Regions from separate parts of the Homo sapiens genome. Here region 1 is linked to region 2. The links are contacts of gene promoters, found by promoter capture Hi-C in blood cells and fetal thymus (Javierre and others, 2016). All regions are on one chromosome and are shown on one strand. Each heading gives the region's core, a stretch centred on a gene start or on the middle of the fragment in contact. The rest is flanking DNA. Distances are from core to core; before and after follow the strand shown. Region 1 overlaps SMUG1 (single-strand-selective monofunctional uracil-DNA glycosylase 1). Region 2 holds the start of HOXC11 (homeobox C11).

Evidence for each region. Contacts are between HindIII fragments. The CHiCAGO score rates a contact against its expected background, and 5 or more counts as called.
Region 1: a contact is called between a fragment that was not itself captured here and the fragment with the promoter of HOXC11 in region 2, in 1 of 17 cell types (activated CD4 T cells). The highest score is 5.3, in activated CD4 T cells.

What each region holds. Positions count from the first base shown.
Region 1 is chr12:54,182,532-54,188,299 of GRCh38, reverse strand. It overlaps SMUG1 (single-strand-selective monofunctional uracil-DNA glycosylase 1), which reads left to right. Exons shown (of 4, transcript NM_001243787.2): 2 at 398-481; 3 at 4,341-4,644; 4 at 5,677-5,768. The coding sequence starts at 4,360. Among named protein-coding and RNA genes, the nearest start is that of SMUG1, 3.6 kb to the left of the region's middle. The HindIII fragment of the contact is 706 bases long and covers 1,640-2,345 here.
Region 2 is chr12:53,968,348-53,974,772 of GRCh38, reverse strand. It overlaps HOXC11 (homeobox C11), which reads right to left and starts at 1,647. Exons shown (of 2, transcript NM_014212.4): 1 at 850-1,647. The coding sequence starts at 1,531. It overlaps HOTAIR (HOX transcript antisense RNA), which reads left to right. Exons shown (of 7, transcript NR_186241.1): 2 at 6,017-6,156. RefSeq lists an enhancer at 1-421. The HindIII fragment of the contact is 12,279 bases long and covers 1-6,131 here.

The DNA of each region.
Region 1 (5,768 bases), core at 743-3,242, 210 kb before region 2:
TATTTATTATTATTATTATTATTATTATTATTTCGTTTAAGGATATTTATTATTGTCCCTGGACTCCCGGAGTGCCTCCAAAGGACAGGGGAGTGCATATGTGATTTCGATTCCTTCCTCACTTCCCGGATTTGATGTCAGAGAAGTCTGACATCAGTCTGAAGTCGGCCCTTGGTGGTCAGCCTTATCGCTTGGTCCAACTCCGCTGTCTTTGTGCTTAATGTAGTATGACACCGTATTTTATAAAATATCTACATTTCTTAAGCCTCTGGCTCTTGGGGCGACTTTGGGTAGAACTTACAAGTTCCTCCTTTGGGTTCTCTTAGTGTTTTGTTCCGGGTATTAAAGCTCACATCACACTGTATTACAGTTAGTTGTTTATTTGCCCTCACAGCAGATTATGAGCTTACAGAAAGCCTGGCCTACATTTTACTCTTTTTGGATTTCTTCCTCATCAAGAGACTGCTGCAGTGCCTGTCATGTAAGAGACTCATAAGTATTGAAAAAAAAAATGAGTTAACAGGTGGTAGGTTGGATGGAGTATGTGATTTTCCATAGAGAAGAGAGTTAAATGAGTTGCTCAAGAGAACCTTCTTAGAGATGAAACAGGAGTAGAATTCAAATCAATTGACTTCCAGCCTGTGGCTCTTGCTATGAGATCAGGCTTTGAAGTTATGGAACAATGAAAGTAGTATCTTGCCACTCTTTTCCCCAGCCTTGCTGTTTCCAACACAGGTGTCTAAATGTCAAAGGTGGGCTCAAGACTTCTCGAGATTCTAGAGCTGGAGCAGCCAATCTGCTAATGTTGGTGTTGCATGGGGAGATGCAAAGCAAGGTCCCCTGAAACACTGGCGTTCTCCACAGCACCCTTCTCAGCTTTTGTATGAGCCCAGTTTGTCCTGGGTAGCCACCTGGACAACAGATCAGTTAAAGACTACTGAGACAGTCAGGGAAGGACTTCCTAAGTTGGGCCTCTGATTTCTTTTCTCTCCCACTTCCCCTAGGCTAGGGTGAGAAAATAGGTTTATCGAGCTGTTGTGTCAACCTTGAGTTCTTATCTTGGAGAAGTCACTCCTGACCCAGGCAGAAAGTTGAGAGGAAGGAATGACAATGGTCCTTGTCGCATGGGAGGCACACATATGATGGGCACAGACCCAGAGTCTGGAAAACAAGCAGAGTGCAAAGTGGGCAGCTAAGCCTTGAGTGAACTCAGGATATAGAAGTGGAGAAGGATCCATCAGGAGTGCCTCCTTGGTAAAAGCTGTTTATTTTATTTTTATATTTACAGATGGGGTCTCATTATGTCAGCCAGGCTGGTCTTGAACTCCTGGCCTCAAGCAATTCTTCTGCCTTGGCCTCTCAAAGTGCTGGGATTACAGGCATGAGCCACTGTGCCCAGCACAGAAGGTAGTTTTAAACAAAAGTGAAAAAGAAGATGGACATTGCTGAGCAGGTGTTTGTTGAGTACCTAATAAGGGCCAGGACCTTGGGCTTATGGAGGGAGATTGAACAAGGCCTGGCTCTTGATCTGCCCAAGTTTAGCTGGGGAGGCAAAAGGAATTCATTAAGACGACGGTAACCATGGTGACACACAGTGGTTCTCAGCCTTCACCAACCATCAGAATCACCCTGGGAAGCTTGTTTAAAATACAGATTCCCAGGCTGGGCACGGTAGCTCACGTTTGTAATCCCAGCACTTTGGGAGGCTGAGGCAGGCAGATCATGAGGTCAGGAGTTCGAGACCAGCCTGACCAACATGGTGAAACCCTGTCTCTACTGAAAATACGAAAATTAGCCGGGTGTGGTGCTGCGCACCTGTAATCCCAGTACCCAGGAGGCTAAGGTGGGAGAATCACTTGAACCCGGGAGGCAGAGGTTGCAGTGAGCTGAGATCGCGCCACTGCACTCCAGTCTGGGCGACAGAGCAAGATTCTGTCTCAAAAAAAAAACAAAACAAAACAAAACAAAAAACACAGATTCCCAGGCCTCACACGGGACCTACTTGTGTTGGGGGTGGGGTTGGGACACTATGGCAAATACTGCAGTGTTCTGAGGAGGGAAGACTTTATCAAAGGGATGGTTTGAGCTGCATTTTGAAGGATGGGAGTGATTTGGATATGTGGACAGGTTGGGGAATCAACAGTCCTAGTTGACTGGATGACTGCTGGATGATGTCCTGGTTGACTTCAGGAGTGTATTTGGTTGGACTGTAGAAATGGTATGTGCAAGGTTTTGGGAGTTGAGGCAGGAAAGGCATTTTGAAAATGTGAGTAGAATGGTCAGGTTGGAACACTGGGTTTGAATGGGAGTGGAGTGAAGCAATGGCCTTTGCAGTTTACAAAGCTTGCTGTCATGTTCCTGCCCCCTCCCTTCTCCTTCCTCCCACCTCCCTTCTCTCTTCCCTTTCTTCTTCCTCTCCCATTTCTTTTCTCCCTTCACCTAAACATAACATCTCATTCCATCCTTACGTCTGTTTGTTTGTTTTGAGACAGTCTCCCTCTGTAGCCCAGGCTGGAGTGCAGTGGCACAATCTCGGCTCACTGCAACCTCTGCCTCCCAGGTCCTGGTTCAAGCAATTCTCCTGCCTCAGCCTCCCATGTAGCTGGAATTACAGGCACGTGCCACCATGCCCAGCTAATTTTTGTATTTTTAGTTGAGACGGGGTTTCACCATGTTGGCCAGGTTGATCTTGAACTCCTGACCTCGTGATCCACCTGCCTCAGCCTCCCAAAGTACTGGGATTACAGGCATGAGCTGTTGCGCCCGGCAAATTTATTTATTTATTTATTTATTTATTTATTTATTTATTTATTTTTTATTTTATTTTTTTTTGAGATGGAGTCTTGCTCTTTTGCCCAGGCTTGAGTGCAGTGGCACGATCTTGGCTCACTGCAACCTCAGCCTCCCGGGTTCAGGCAGTTCTCCCTGCCTCAGCCTCCCGAGTAGCTGGGATTACAGGTGCCCACCACAACGCCCAGCTAATTTTTTTTTTTTGAGAGAGAGTTTCACTGTTGTTGCCCGTGCTGGAGTGCAATGGCACGATCTTGGCTCACCGCAACCTCCACCTTTCAGGTTCAAATGATTCTGCCTCAGCCTCCAGAGTAGCCGGGATTACAGGCACGTACCACCATGCCTGACTAATTTGTATTTTTAGTAGAGGTGGGAGTTTCTCCATTTTGGTCAGGCTGGTCTCGAACTCCCGACCTCAGGTGATCTGCCCACCTCAGCCTCCTAAAGTGCTGGGATTACAGGCTTGAGCCACCACGCCCAGCATGCCCAGCTAATTTTTGTAATTTTTAGTAGAGACGGGGTTTCGCCATGTTGGCCAGGCCAGTTTTGAACGCCTGACCTAAGGTGATTCAGCCGCCTTGGCCTCCCAAAGTGCTGGGATTACAGGCATGAGCCACCATGCCTGGCCTTCCTTATGTCAACATTATTAAGTGGATATTATTATTCTTTGTATTTGAAGGTGGAAACCTGAGGCTCTGGCCATGGTTGTGTAGCTCGTAAGATTCTATGAGGAGTCTGTAATCATCCTACTCGGTATTCCTGAGTGTGGGAAAGAAGCTAGGCTGGGGTTAGGGGGTTGTAGAATTAGCAGGGTGGCTGATCAAACCATCTAAGGCAAGATGGCGTGGGTGGTTAAAGCATAGCCTTGAGCCAGAGAGATTGGGCTCAACCAAATCCAGCTTTATTACTTACTAACTGTAAGACCTTGGGCAAGTTGCTTAATCTTGCTAAGCCTCAGTGTCCTCACTTATAACAGGGGAGCAGTAATACCCACCTCATGGGATTGTTGTGAGGATCAATGAGGTGTACCTGGTGCAGAGCAGTCGCTCACCACCTGGAAGCTATTGTAATTAGCCTTCCCAGGTCTCTGGGCTGTGGCTGTGCACTTGCATTTCATTCTTCAGCGCCGTGCTTTCCAGAACAGTCCATTCTGGCTGGGCTTTTCTTTTTTAGGATGACCTTAAAGGTGCTGAAAGGATGCCACCAGTAAATGTTTATTGAAAACCTACTATGTGCTCGGCATAGCCCAGGAACTAGTGACCTATGCCTGATGGAAAGGAGATTTGGAGTGGGAGATGTTTGGTGGCTATGGCTTATCCTCACCAGGTGCCATGTGAAGAGGACAGATAATGGAAGTGGGGAGGGAAAGGGCCCTTCATTACCAAGAACTGAGATGAGTTCAGTCCTACTTGGTGGTTGGTAGATGACTGACATGGTCTCTTAGGGTCCCTTCTGAGCCCAGGAAATGGTAGTGGGGGCCCTGGCAAGCATGGATCCCTCCTACTCTGTGGCTGAGGGTTGATGGGGCTTCTGTCCATCTCTTTTCCCAGGTGACAGCGGCATGGACATATGCCCCAGGCTTTCCTGCTGGGGTCCATCCATGAGCCTGCAGGTGCCCTCATGGAGCCCCAGCCCTGCCCTGGAAGCTTGGCTGAGAGCTTCCTGGAGGAGGAGCTTCGGCTCAATGCTGAGCTGAGCCAGCTGCAGTTTTCGGAGCCTGTGGGCATCATCTACAATCCCGTGGAGTATGCATGGGAGCCACATCGCAACTACGTGACTCGCTACTGCCAGGGCCCCAAGGAAGTACTCTTCCTGGGCATGAACCCTGGACCTTTTGGCATGGCCCAGACTGGGGTAAAGGGTTTGGCTTCCCCAGTGGGTGGAGTGGGGGGTTCTAGGTGGATGCTTGGCTGGGTGTGCTGTGGAGAAGGAGCATGTGCATGGCTGTAGACATGTGTAGGTCCTCCCGCCCCATTCTGTCTCAACACATATACTGGCTCCTGTGGTCCGAGGCCCTCTCCCAGCGTCTCTGCCCGTAATTAACCAAGCACATTAATGGTAGTTTCGTTTTCCCTGTGAGCTGGCCAGTAATTGCCTCTGAGAGCCCTTCCTTCCGCCAGCCCCATCCTTACTTTACTGGATCTCCCCTGTCCCTGAAGTGTGGTTGGGGTCAGAAGAGGGACTAGGACTGCTGGGTCCTCAGAAGAGACTGGTTGACAGGGGTGGGTATGTAAGAGATGCAGGGCGTTCTGGGAACCTGGGTTCTGTTTCCTAGCTAAGGCGAGGTTCAAAACAGAGCCTGGCTCCAGTGCCTGCCCGCTTTTCTTTCAGGGCTCAGGATGAGTGACTGCCCCCAGTGGGGGTGCTTGGCAGGTGGGGGAGGGGAAGAGGCTTCAGGGCAGAAGGCTCAATCGCTTTTATTGACCCCAACTGGGTGATGAAAGGTGATCAATGATGATCGATGGAAATGACAGCCTGAGGCTTGGGGCTGAGAGGGCATCCAGACAGCAGTGGTCAGCCCATCCTTGTGCCTCCTTTAACCCTGGCTGCCTTTCTGTCTCAGACCATCTGTCTGTCCCCAGTACTAACCATCAAACCCTGTGTAGGGCTAGATATCTCAATGTAGTCCCTGTACTTAGTCCCAAAGGCTAGTTGGGCTAGAGGGAAACAAATTCTTCTGGACCACGGTTCACAATGAAGAACTGGAAAAAGACAGACAGGCTCAAACCATAGGGCCAAGAATCCTTGTCTCAGGCCTTTGGGTGAAGGTAGGGGTAGGGGGTGCAGGCTGGATCCTCATGTAAGGTATAAAGAAGTCAGTTGGTCCAGAGCCCGGGCCTCAGGTCTCCAGTTTGAAGCCTTTCATGTCTCTCTCCTTCCTCACAGGTGCCCTTTGGGGAAGTAAGCATGGTCCGGGACTGGTTGGGCATTGTGGGGCCTGTGCTGACCCCTCCCCAAGAGCATCCTAAACGACCAGT
Region 2 (6,425 bases), core at 398-2,897:
ACAGGCGCGAAGCAGTGAAATCTGGCGAGAGCAGTCGGGAGGCGGGGAGGAAGCCGGCCAGCAGGCACCGAGACACCAGAGAGCCGCTTCCGGGGCCCTGGCGCCCCGGGAAGCCCGCGGGGCAGCGCCTTCCACACCGCAGTTCTAGGCAAGCACTAAGGCCGCGGACCCGGGAGAAACGCCCAGACCCCCGCCTGGAACGCAGTGGAGTCCTGCGCCGCCTCGCCCCATTCCCCTGTCGCCGCTGACCCCAGAGTTGCTTGGGTTTCTGCTCGAGGACCCGCGAACACATAGTTTGAACATTTTCAAAACTAGTTTTAAGAAGGATCATAGCGGTCCTGGCTTGCCTCTCCGGTCTCAGGTTCTGCTCCATTGCTCCTCTCCCCCACCTCTCCCCCTCTCTGGATCTCTCCCTGTCTTTCCCTCGCCCTCCCCTTTCTCCCCCTCCACCCCTCCCCTCCTCCCCACTCCTCGGCAGCCCGGCTCCCCATACTTCCTTAAATGCTCCTCTAAGTTCACGATCAAAGTTAATATCGCCCGCAATGGTTGCGCTTTTAAAAATTTCACAGACCGAGGGAGATAACGGGGGAGGGGGGTTCACCCGGCTTTTCCAAAGAGCCCTTTTCCCTCCCTCCCCACCCCTTCTCCATCGTAAAAAGTCGAGTCGTTGGGAGAGAGGGCTTTGTAGGTTATAATAAAATCCTTTGAATGCTTATAAAACTCCACATAAAATCGGACTGACCCAAAACACGAGGCCGTCCCCGCTCCCCTTGCCTCCCCCCTTCTCTCGCCCTCCCTCTCTCGCTCCCTCCCTCGCTGCCCGCCCGTTCCCCGGCCGCTGCTACCTACTGGGGGCGGCTCCTTTGGCCGGCTCCTTGGCCACGGAGTGGGCTGAACCGGACGAGCTGGGATTTGTGTTCTCCTCCTCAGCCTCCGCCTCGGCACCCGCCTCAGCCCGGGACGCCAGTCCCGAGGCCGGGGGTGCCTCGGGCTCCCCCTTGGCCTCGCCCTTGCCGGAGCAGGGGGGCTCGGCGGGCGGGTCGCCGCCACCGCAGTAGGCGTTGTCGAAGAAACGGTCGAAGGCTTGAGGCAGGACGCTGTTCTTGTTGACTGAGGAGTAGAAGCCGGCGGGGGTTGCGTGCGGGGCGCTGGGGTGGTGGTGGCCGCCGTAGGAGCCTTCGTTTTTCATGAGGATCTCGGTGACGGTGGAAGGAGGCAGGCACTCCCGGTGCATAAGCTCGTCGGCCGCCGCATAGCAGGAGGAGTAGCTGTTCCGATGGTGCCACTTGCCGGATGGCTCCAGGCCGTAGGAGACCTCCCGGACCGGGGGCACTTGGGCCGAGTAGGGATAGGAGATCTGACGAGAGGGGGCCTGGGGCAGGAAGGAGGAGACCGTGGAGAACTCGGGCATGTAGTAAGTGCAACTGGGCAGATAGAGGTTGGAGGCGCAGCTCCCTCGCTCGCCGAAATCTGCGCCCCTCTCCTTGCGCGACGGAGAGCAGAAGTTGCCCAGGTTGACCGAGTTAAACATCGTTCTCCTCTCCTGCCGGCTCCGGATGGAGGTTTTGGACCCGGTCTAGCGAGGGGGGAAAATTTGGGAAGGCGAGATGACGCGTTATCCGTCTTAGTCTCTCTCTCTCTGAGCACGTGATCCAAAGTAGATATTGTCATATATCAGTTCGGAGCACTTCGCAGACGTAGGAGGGGTTCTCTCTTAGGTAAGATCGGGGACGTTCAGGCGATTGGTTTGCAAACACCGCAGAAACATTATGAAAATCAATTGCAGATTTGTATTCGTTTTTCTCTCGTCACTCCCCTTCTCTCCATACCACAGCACGAGCAAAGGAGGAGAGAGAGGGTTGGGGTGGGGTGGGCGGTGGGATGGGCGAGGGTGGTGGCTGGGAAGGGGTAATTGTATTTTTTTCTAGCTGCTGCTCTTTTTTCCCCCAGGATTGGGGGAAGGAGGAGGGCTCTCATGTATGGGGGTCTTGCCTCCTCTCTGTGAGCAGCACCAGGAGGGTGGGAGTGAGGACTTCTTTCCCCACTGCCTGATTTCCCCAGAGAAGTGAATCCTTTCCCTTAAATCTCAGGGACTCTTACCCTTCCAACCCGCAGAGACACCGCCTGTTCACAAGAGTTTGAAGAAGTCCACTCTTTTCCTGGCCAGAGCTGGGTGTCAAGACTACCTTTCTGGAGTCCTTAGAGAGACTCCCGGAAGAGTATCTGAAGTTTCCCAAAGGTGAGGCAGCCCAGCTGCAAGCCAGTGTCCCAACTTTGTCTGGCTTGCTGTGCTGCCCCTGGCTAGGGAGTCAGATTAGTCATAAACGAGTGGTGAGCAGTGCGCCAGCCGCCCAGCCGGTGCCTGGCGAAGTCTGGGAAAAACCTTCTCTAATGTTGTGTTAAATATTTAGTATGAGAGAGTGGCCCTGGGTGAATATTTCATGCCTGCCTTTATTGTCAATCAATGTGAAGAAAGCTACATCCACTGTGGATTTTCAAATCCCAAACCCCAAAGAAAAGGATTGGAATGAGAGCCATGTATCTTCTATGTCAGGGCCCTTTGGCTTAGTGGCTCAGCCTCAGCTAGTGCGCTGAAAAGAAGCCTAGTGTAGGGGTCCAGGAAGAATATGGTGGGGGGGACTAGGTTTGGGGTTCTTATCCTTGGATGATTTTGAGGACTGTAAGGTGGGTGGTGGGGCCAGGTATGGGTCTCCAGAAGAGACTAACCAGACAGTGGAAAGGAGCGGTGGATGCTGTGGCATCAGGGGAGGCCCAGCGGCCACTCCCTAGTCAAAGCCCCCAGCCTCTGTCCCTGGGGCTGTGACCAGATCTTAGTGCCTCCTTCCTATTTCTCAGCCCTGTCCTGCCCTCCTACAAGTCTGTCAGCCTCCTGGATAGCTGTAGCCCAAGAAGTAGGCTCAGTCATTCTGCATCCCCAACCCCTTGCCTTCCATCCCTCTGAGCACCACAGGACACATGTGGGCATCTGAAAATCACTTTATTGAAAGGTTCTGGACTGGGTCCAAGGGGCCAAAAGCAACCAGCATGAGCTGAAAGCAACCTTGGATCCAAAGAGGAGCTGCCAGGGCACAATTTGTTTGGGAAGGAGGGGAAGAACCGAAGCCCCCAAGGGCTCAGCCCAATGCACACTCAGGGGAAAACAAAAAATAGCCCGAACTCTCTTTACATCCATAACCCTCAGTTAAAATTAGTTTCCACTTAAAGAAATTAGAATGGATTTGTCTTGATGAAACATGATAAGGTGCTGCGGCTCCCAAACCAGATAAGGAGGACACAAAAAATTGTAGCTTGTCTCCATATGTAACCCCTAAAATCCATTCCTCCTCAATGCTCCTGCCTCCTCAAACTTGCTCAGCATTTAAGTGACACCTGAGTGGAGTCTGCCTCCACCATGGGTCCCATTCTCAGGGTGGTTCTGGAATACTCAGGGATAGGTCTCAGGTGCCCCTCTACGCACTCAATGCTGGGCGCTACTCCTTTAGTTCTGGTCAGATCTTAAACTGAAGCAAAGAAGAACTAGATTGGGGCTTTGCTGAAGTGTGAGACTTCTGTTGGTAAGGGGCCATGAAAAGAAAAATCTGCTGTGTTTCCTTTTTCCTCTAGCCCTTTTTATAGAGTGAGATGGGGCCAGCATTTTTAATTATAGTGGTGGGGAACTATGGACTATGGCTTTTAATGGGGTTCACACTGACCTCATTAAACTCGAGTTTATTGAAGGCAAAATGCTGCCCAAACAGTGATAGGAACCAGCAAGAGGGAAGCGAGAGGTACCCCTATCCTTGCAGAGGTGTGGATGAGGGCTCGAGTCTCAGATCCCGCTTTCTCCACTTCCACCCAAGGCTCTGCTTCCTTCCCCCTCCTGGCCCTCCAGGGTGATGTGGGGCCCAATCCCCCAAGGCAGATTCAGCAAAGCCAGGACTGAGATGGGGGTAGGGGCTGTATCCTGTGAGGAGACAGCTGCTGGACTGAGCACTTGAATTTGACCACCAAAGTTTATTCCTGGGCCACCATAAAAGTGAGCCAGGCGGCAACAAGGAGCTGCTGGCGGCCCTATTTCCTTGAAACAAAAAAGAAATGCAAGAAAGAATGTCAAAGAGTTGATGTCTAGGAAACGCTGGGGTCTCCCAACAGAGACTTCTGGAAAGTAATATTCCTCCCCTTAAAAGTAAGGCATAAAGTTTAAAATGTTCTCTAGTGTTGATATGGCTTAGTTTTTCAACAAATCAAAAAACCTCTAGCAACTGTCAGTTGCTGCTACGGTCAAGGAAAGAAGGCCCTGGCCACTGAGGTCAGCTAGACATTTACTGGCAAAAATGCCCATGGTCTGGAGTAGCCTCCCTGCCCAGCCCTGGGTCCAGGCTACCTGGACGCTTCAGCTGAGATGTTTGCCCTAGGCTGCACCCTCTCAGCCTGTGGATTCTGGCCACAGCATCAATACCTCCCTGTACAGGAGCCATCCCTGGCCCCCAATCCCTTCCTTGTCAAGCCCGCTCCAGGTGGCTTATTTGTATCTTATCTGGTGGGTGCCTGTGACCCCTCCATCTGCTTTGAGTCCTGGCCTTCACCTGAAATTCTCTGCAGCAGGGCCATCCGGCCCTCCCCACTGGCTCTTGGTGTCCTCAGTCAGCGCCATCAGCCAGCCTGGCTGCTAGCAGGCGGCTGCGGTCTGGGCAGCTGTCCAGGTAGCTGGACCAAAGTTAAGGCAGACTCCAGCACCCTTCCCTCCAACACACGGACAACAGGGGCAGCTTAAGAAGGGGACAGTGTCTCCTAAATTCTACCCTGGGCGGCTCCCAGAGCAAACTCCCGCACACAGCGTTGGGGCCTCCTGTTAGCTTGTCTACCTCCTCCACTGCTCTGGGTTCTAGAGAGCAGATCGTGGTAGGGAAAGGAGCCCATCCCACAGACCATGAACTGGGGAGGAAAATGCTGAAAGAAGAAATGGGGCCCACATATGCTCCAGTGGGCTTGGATTGTAAATTCAGCCTGTGTGGAGTCAATAAAAAGATAAGCGGAGAGAGTCCCACACATGGACGCTCTCGTTTGTTCACAGGCTGGGCCAGCAAGGAGACTTCATTAGAAATTGGCTTTCACCTTCTTGCCTATATTTCTCTCCCTTACAGTAATATCACTGCCTGCAATAATCCCTTTAGTATGCTTTGGGATTTTCAGGTCAGTGGTTTATCTTGCACCCGGGACACCCCAGCCCCAGCCAGGGAACAAGAAGCGGGTGGGACTGCTAGTTCCTGGCTTCCACCTCTTCTCAGACTTGGCCATTGCCCCAAGCCTGAGTCCCCAAGTCAGGCCACCTAAGCTGGTGGACGCTGCTCAGAGGTTCCTGGGACCTATGGAGGAGGTAGTGGGGAGGGAGAAGGACAGCTCCTTTGCCCCCACAGGCCCCACCCAGCTTCCTCTGTGGAGAGATTGTCCCAGGATGCTAGCAACCCGACCCTATTTCTTCCCATAAAAGCCCTATTTTACGAGCCGGTTTCACTGGCCCCCTCACCAAATGCTCCAAAATGAAGGAAATGTCTTAAAAGCAGGCTGGAAATGGAGCCGCTGCTATTGGGCTTCAGTTTCCTAAGCCAGTTGTAGTGGCACAGAAAATACCTTTTCTGGGTGGGATTGCCCTGTTGGGCCACCCAGATCTCCCGCCTCACCACAGAGCAGAGGCGGGTTGGCCGGAGCCCTGATTCTCTGGCTTTAGCTCCTACATTAAGGCTCGGACCTAGTCCTCCTGATCAAAGTGAGCTCGCGGCATTTTTATGAGATCAACTTCAGCAACTCTTTATTAGCGATCAGATGCCTGGGTCGAAAATGCAAAAGGGAACAAACAGCTAATCAATCCAAAAGGAAAAAGAAAAGAGAGGGGTGGGAAGGCATGGGGTGAAAAACTTCAGGTGACACAAAGCAAAAAGATTCCAGTCACCAAAAACAAAAACAAAAAAAAATCTTTTGCCCCCAGCAAGAATCATTTGTTTGGGATCTGTTCCAGCCTCCAGGCCCTGCCTTCTGCCTGCACATTCTGCCCTGATTTCCGGAACCTGGAAGCCTAGGCAGGCAGTGGGGAACTCTGACTCGCCTGTGCTCTGGAGCTTGATCCGAAAGCTTCCACAGTGAGGACTGCTCCGTGGGGTGAGTGTTGTGGCCTATGCCTCCTTGCCCCAGCAAGGAAAGTGCCTTCTGCTCAGGATTTACAAGTCTCCCCCATTTTGCTGCTTTCCTTTCGGCGGGCTCAGTGGTTTTCTCCTCACTACAGTCAGAAGTTGAGTTACAGGAAGATTCGCCAGAGATTTATCGCCTGGCCCCAAACTTGGAGAGCCTCGTTGTCATAAACAGCCATCTATTGTCTAGACTTTTATCTCCGGGTATGGATCGTGCATTAGCGAGGCTCAGGAGACATG